2 separate regions of the Homo sapiens genome follow, and region 2 is linked to region 1. The links are contacts of gene promoters, found by promoter capture Hi-C in human tissues and cell types (Jung and others, 2019). All regions are on one chromosome and are shown on one strand. Each heading gives the region's core, a stretch centred on a gene start or on the middle of the fragment in contact. The rest is flanking DNA. Distances are from core to core; before and after follow the strand shown.

Region 1 (3,701 bases), core at 65-2,564:
AGAAGGTCTCTTCAATCCTCAGCCTTGAAGACACACACACACACAAACACACACACACACAAAAGGTGCATGTTAGTTTGTGTGTGTGTATGTGTGTGTGTCCTACTGTCCTACTAGGTCAAGGTCAGCAGCGTGACCCCTATTCCTTCAACACTTCTGACCTTGGCATTTTTGTATGGAATCCTCTTCCCCAGGGGTCCACACGGCACCCCCCCCCCCCCACACTGCCCTCAGGTCCTGCTCACATCAGGGCATCCTTAGACTTCTTTCCTGACACGTCCTTCAGAGACCCTGGGTCTTCCCTTTCTGACCTTTCCCTGCTCTGCTCCCTCCAGGGTTCTTGTCAACACCTGACCTCACATTCTAGATCTCTTTGCATGTCTGTCTTCCTCCCCATGACAGCGTGAGCTCTGTGAGGACAGGGACTTTTGTGATCTTGGTTGCACCCCAGTGCCTGGAACAGGCTGCAGACTCCTGCAGATGTGAGAGTTCTCAGGGCCCTCCACACCCTTGGTGTTTTATTTTCCCCCAATTGTTGAGGATTTTGCTGAGGACAGTGTTTCATGTCCTGCTTATACTTTTATTAGAAGTGTCATCTGATATAGTTATTATTATCATTTTTCAAAATGTCGTGGCCCTCTTACCAATTCCGGTTCAATATGACTTTCCAGTTTTGACCTCTGTCCCTCTCTGGTGTATTTTACCCTATCCAGGCTCCAACAGAGACTTCTTTCCTTTTTTTTCTTTTTTCTTTTTTTTCTTTTTATTTTTTTGAGACAGAGTCTCGTACTGTCACCCAGGCTGGCGTGCAGTGGTGCTATCTCGGCTCGCTGCAACTTCTGCCTCCCGGGTTCATGTGATTTTCCTGCCTCAGCCTCCAGAGTAGCTAGGATTCCAAGAGCACACCACCATACCTGGTTAATTTTTTGTATTTTTAGTAGAGACAGGGCTTCACTGTGTTGGCAGGACTGACCTTGAACTCCTGATCTCATAATCCACCCACCTCATCCTCCCAAAGTGCTGGCTTCTTTTATTTTTTAGAACCCCATCCTCTCCAGGAGACCCAATCCAGTCACTCTTCTTCCTCCTCCTGTCCTCTCCCAGGAAGTTCTCTCCTCACCTGTGAGCAGGAGCCCCTTCCAGGTGATGTGCTGTGTGCAGGGAGGGGCTGAGAGGGGCCCCATGGTCTCTGCGCCTGCGTGTTCTCCTCTGTGGAGCTGAGCCTAGGATCCAGAAACTTCCTGAGCACGGCTGTAGGCTGTGCTGTCCTTCCTCCTTCTGTGCTGAGCCTCTCTCCAGGGCAGGAGCACTTCTCAGGCTCATGGGTGGGGTCAGGCCCAGGACACCTCTCTGTCCCCTCCTCTCTCAGTCCTGCCTCCTTGTCCCTCCTTCTGTTTTTCCTTTTGTCTGTGTTTCAGGTCCCTGGGAATTGTGGAGGCCTCTGCATTTTTCAGCAGTGATTCTTTCACCAAACCTCAACCACACTTTGTGCAGACACACACACACAGAAGAGACACACACAGACCCACACAGTCACACACATACCCCGCAGGTTGGGCAAGCAGAGTCCTGGGCCTCAGCCTCCTGCTGTCCCCATGGCTCTGGGTCGGGATGCACATTCACGCCCTTTGCCCTCTTTCATCCCCATCTGGCTCTCCCCTTCAGTGCAGGAGGCTGAAGCTGCAACGGGTCCCTGTCACAGTGACACCCCATTGTGCTGTGGGTGAGCTGTGTGTTGCCTGGTGAGAGGGACCCTTCCTTTCTCTAATCGTGTCTAGCTTGGCTGCAGCTTCCAAGGATGGACCTTCAGGACCTGGGTGTCCCAGAGGAAACTGTCCTTCCTGGAGGTGTGCAGGGTGAATCTCTCATGCCTCTTGGGAGGAGAGGCCTGTGCTGGTTGCTCAGTGGGGGCTGTGAGTCCCAGAGTCAAGAGGACAGTTCTTCATCACTCTATGGCTCCCTGGGGTCTGGCAGCTGAGCTGGAGCTCAGGGTTTCTCATGTTCTCCCTGACCATCTTTGATGTCCTCTCTTCTCTGCCCAGCTGACTGTCCTGGGGTCACCACACCTTCCCCGTTGTGGTGCAGGAGGAAGTGGGGAGTTACCCAGGAACCCCGCGGGACATGGCTCGTTGAGACGCAGGAGGGGGAGCCTGGGACAGAGCAGGGGTTCAGAGCTGGAGAGATTCATCCCGACTTACTCCGTGGCCATGATGGGCTCAGCCCTCCATGTGCTGACATACCCAGGGGTCTGTCCTGAGGGTTTTGACCTGGCCAAGCTGCTCTCTGTAGAGGAGGAACAGGCATTGGCCAGAGATCCTGTCTGGAGGGACGTTGCTCACACCTGAGAGGGCGGGTGGGGGTGAGTTGTGTTCTGAGAGCAAAGAGCAATAACACCCCTCATCTCCCCGCAAGCACACAAGAGAGGTCTGTCTTCCCAAGGGACAGCTGGTGGCAGGTGGCCACATCCCGGATGGTGCCTGTGTGTGACCATCACACGCTCTCTGCGCCCCCTGGGCTGCAGCAGGCAGGCAGGACACAGGGTGCCTGGCTTATTCCCGGGGAGGCTGTGGGCCCTCAGGCAGCCACTGTTCTGTGTCAACACTAGGCTTGGCCTGGGATGCCCCAGAGAACAGGACAGATGGAGCAGGGGCGGGCATTTAGGGAGCAGTGACAGAAAGAGTTGATGAGGATGGAGGGAGGTCACGAGGGGAAAGAGCTCAGCGTGGCGTCGCGTGCACCAGCGCTGCCCTGGGAGATGCCTTTAGCTGGGCCCAGGGAAGGAGCAGGTGTGTGGGGCTGGAGCTACCTACAGAGGGAGTGGTGTTAGGTTGGCGGCCGCCAGGTCAGAGAGGAGCTGACAGAGTCCATGTGGGGAGCATGGAGGGCGCTGAGGACTTGGGCCGAATTGACCCTGGTGAGGGTGGACCCTTCTGGGCTGTGGGTTCTAATGAGGGACGTTGGCATCCCCTGGGAAGGCTCCAGGCTGGGAGGGACTCTGTCGTCCTCTGGTGGACAGGGAGGGAAGTGTGAACGGCAGCAATCCCAGGCCAGGCTGCATGTTTTATTCCACATGGATCTGCACACTTCACACGAGGTCACACTTACGTTATGTTACAGCTCCTTCACCTTCCAGCCCCGTGAGTCCCAGTCTGTGTGGCTCTACGTTCACTGTTCTCCCTCTTTCACAATCAGATGTCCCAAATGCAGATTTTTGTCACCTTCTGTGAGTTTGTGTTTGTGTGCAGTAGGCAGCACTGTGTATACCCTGGGGGCAGTGATGTCTGGGGCTGAGCACTGCAGTTGGGCTTGGGAGCAGAAGAGGGAGCAGCAGGATGGGAAGACCAATATCAGGGGGGCAGGGACAAGTCATTTTCATTTTCTCACTCCCAGGGACCAGAACCCAGGATTCTGACTCCAGGGCACAGTACCACACCCTGCTGGTGTCCCTGGATGTCATGATGCTCATAGTGTCATGTTGCCTTGGCATTCATTTTTATAAGGTGTAAGTTTATTTGCCTCAAATCAGAGGCAGGGCTTGGTCACCATGGCAGTTTTCAATACTGTATCTGGTTCAGGTGGCTCCAGTTGGTGTCCAGAGATAAAATCTTAGAGGCATCTCTGCTGCTTGGTGTGCTGGGCTCCCGTCTCTCCAGCTGCTTTCCTTAAACTGATAATTCTGACATTCGCCCTCACATTTAAAG
Region 2 (3,360 bases), core at 94-2,593, 34 kb before region 1:
GGGGTCATGTGCCCAGGGTGCCCTTCCCTAAGGGAGAACCCAGGACAGGAGCAGATTCAGAAAAAACCTCCCAGCTCACTCCAGCAAGAAGCAGAAAAGGGACTGGTTAAAGGACAGGGTAGGAAGGTCACCAAGCTCCAAGGGCCCTCATGAAGCCAGCTTGGAGGCCACAGGGCCCAGGGCAAGGACCAAACCACAGGCACAGGACAGCTCTGGTCAAGACCTTCTGGCTACCGCAGGAGGCAGAAACCACACCCTGCACCCTGCACTGCTGAGGCTGGCCCTGGGGTCCAGAAGCTTCTACACCAGAAGCTTCTGTCCCCGATCCCCACTGAAAAAATTAAAACAAAAACAAAAAGCAAATCGGTGCCATGCACCCTCTGCTTCCTGGTGCTGTTCAGGATCCTGAGTCTTTCACGGGAGCACCTAATGGGGAAAGCCTGGACCCGTGTCGGTGTCCCTCCTGCAAGGAGTGCTGGGAAAATGAACTTTCCGGCTTCCTCCTTGGGAAAGAAGAACATTCCCCATGTGTACTGGTGGCATTTAAAAACTGCAGGGCAGCCAGAGAACATGCACCGTGTTCCACCAGGAGAGTTTCCAGCGGGATGTCCCGGTGAAGATGCCCGTCCCAAGGTGGGTATTTGAGCTGAGGAACTGAGAAGCTGTTTTCTGCCTAGAGTTAGAGATCCGAGAGGCATCAGCACATGGAAGGGAGGGAAGCTATGATGCCTCCAGGGTGGGAGATCAGATGAACCAGGAGAGGCAGGGCCCGGGAGGAACCCCGGGGAGCAGCCGCCTTTAAAGCCTGGGGGAAGTAGCTTCAGAGAAGGTGGGGCAGGTTGGGTGGGGGGTGCTGGAAAAATATAATTAAGAAAGAAATTTCTGCTCATCCCAGAAACCCCCATCACATCCGTAGACGTAAAAGAAACCTGTCTTATGATTAAGCATTAAGCCAAAATGTGATGCAATCTGCTGAGAGATGACAAAGTCAGAAATAAATCCCACTTTGGATCCAGCCAAGCAGGTGCAACCCGTTACACACATGGTCTCCAGATAGACGGTGACTAGTTTCCAGTTGAAAGGACTCAATGGCACCATTTGTCACACATAGTTCATCCTAAATTCACCCAGTAAGTGGGTTGATTCTCTGTGTGGTTAATTGGCTTTATCTACAGGAAAAACAAACCTCTTATCTATGACAGGAGGTAGTTTTGCAACTGGGAGTGAGATGCCCCAAGAACTGAGGTTCCTTCCTTCTCACAGAAACTGGGAGACAGGGGCGCCTTCTGCCCGGATGCCTGCCTTTCAAAGAGAGGTCTCCTATGGCCTTGAGGAGGACAGTTCTGGGTTGGCAGGCAAGATGTTTATGTATGCTTTAGAAAGCTTTACATACATCTTCAAGGGCTAGAGAAAGAATTTTCAATTACCTCTTCTAAAAAATAAATGCTCTCAAAGTCCAGCCTAGGCTGCATAGCAAGATCCAATCTCCACACACACAATAATAATAATCAATTTGCTGGGCATAGTGGGGTGTGCGTGTAGTCCCAGCTACTCAGGAGGCTAAGGAGGGAGGATCACCTGAGCCCAGGAAGTTAAGGCTGCAGTAAGCTTGGATGGCACCACTGCACTCCAGCCTGGGTGACAGAGGGAGACTCTGTCAATGAATGAATGAATGAATAAATGAATAAATGAATGAATAGAAAATGCTCTGAGCGAAAAGAGGAGAGTCTCTTTATCTTTTTGCAACAGGCTAAACAAAATTTTTAAAAATGTATATTTGCCTCACAGAGATTATTCCAGGAAAAGAAATGGCCCTCAGTGTCAAAGGATGCAAAACTAACCTGTGAGTTCCTGGCAGGTTTAGCAATAAAGGAGGATGTTGCTGATCTCAGTACAAGCAATGTTAGAGAAAGGGGAAGATGGAAGTGGACGAGGACCAGTGAGTGGAAGGTGACAAATGGAAGCAAAGAAACCCATCCAGACCATTGAAGATGCTTGAGCGAGAAGAAAGAGGCGGTGGAGGGAATGGAAGCCCGAGGAAGTCATTTGTTGCAATAGGATGCCTCAGAGCACGTGTAGGGTGCGGGGCAGAGCCCATGCAGAGGGGCTGTGGAAGGCTGGCAGGGTGCAGGTGGCCCCACTCTCCGTCACCCTGAGGAATATGTGGTCAGAGTTAAAGCTCAGTCTGTTTCTGGGATCAGGTAAGAGGTGAGCGTCCGGAGAAGACAGGCGGATCTTCAGATCCTGCAGACCTCCACCGCGCCCTCTGTCCCTCTTGACTGCTTTTTCTCCATCTCCATTGTCTGGCTCACATTCGTGTCACTTTTTCATTTCTCCCTACCCCTCTTTTCTCTTTTCTCCTCTCTTTTTCTTAACCCTTATACCTTTGGAAGTCCCACTAATAGAATTTAAACAGCTTTTCAAGTTGGTTTTTTGTTCCCAGAAATTGACTTTAGACTCTCCATGAATAATGTGGAAATCAAACGAGTATAAGCTGATTCACGTCTCTGCAAATGAACAAATAAAGTCTACATTCCAATGCTTTCTTTTTCCAGAGTAGCCCACATTTGATTTTTTTTTTTTTAATTACTGTCACTTGCAATAGATTTTTAAATCTTGTAACCTGGTTACACAAATACCATGGGGCCAAAGACTTACTTCCTGTAAGAGGAAACCAGGCTTGACTAGCCTCATGCTGGCTTTGAAGAAGTAAAATCAGGGGTTGATGAATTTGCATAGGGTAAATATCAAAGATCGAAAGTCAACAATAGGTGGTAGAGGGAATACCCCAAATTATAAAAAAAGAAACTGTTTAAGCCACAATAGAATTATCGTAGAAATAAACCATGGTCCTTCCTGCTAAAATATTCCACTTAGAATTGTAAAATATTCTTCTCAATAACTCCTGAAAGAGCCTATTAAGAAATTAATGAGGCTGGGCATGGTGGCTCACACCTCTAATTCCAGCACTTTTGGAGGCTGAGACGGGTGGATCACTTGAGGTTAGGAGTTTGAGACCAGCCTGGCCAATATGGTGAAACCCCGTCTCAACTAAAAATACAAAAATTACCCAGGCATGGTGGCAGGCACTTGTAATCCCAACTACTCGGGAGGCTGAGGCAAGAGAATTGCTTGAACCCAGGAAGTGGAGGTTGCAGTGAGCCAAGATGGCAGCACTGCACTCCATCCTGGATGACAGAGTTAAACTCCATCTCAACCAAAAAAAAAAAAAGAAAAAGAAAAGAAACTAACAAATGTAAGAGTGTCTATGTTCCAAATCCGGTGTATTATTTTATGCAGCCTTTCACAAGCTCTAAAAGATTCACTGTGCAGAACTGGAGGTTCTAGAGAAAGACCACG

The links. The method cuts DNA at HindIII sites, captures the fragments that hold promoters and counts their contacts. A contact is called where the count stands out against the background at its distance.
Region 2: a contact is called between a fragment that was not itself captured here and the fragment with the promoter of PSG5 in region 1, in 1 of the 25 tissues and cell types used here (H1 embryonic stem cells).

What each region holds. Positions count from the first base shown.
Region 1 is chr19:43,185,222-43,188,922 of GRCh38, forward strand. It overlaps PSG5 (pregnancy specific beta-1-glycoprotein 5), which reads right to left and starts at 1,315. Exons shown (of 6, transcript NM_002781.4): 1 at 1,121-1,315. The coding sequence starts at 1,184. The HindIII fragment of the contact is 15,826 bases long and covers 1-3,701 here.
Region 2 is chr19:43,151,411-43,154,770 of GRCh38, forward strand. No RefSeq gene overlaps it. Among named protein-coding and RNA genes, the nearest start is that of PSG11-AS1, 1.7 kb to the right of the region's middle. The HindIII fragment of the contact is 3,003 bases long and covers 1-2,845 here.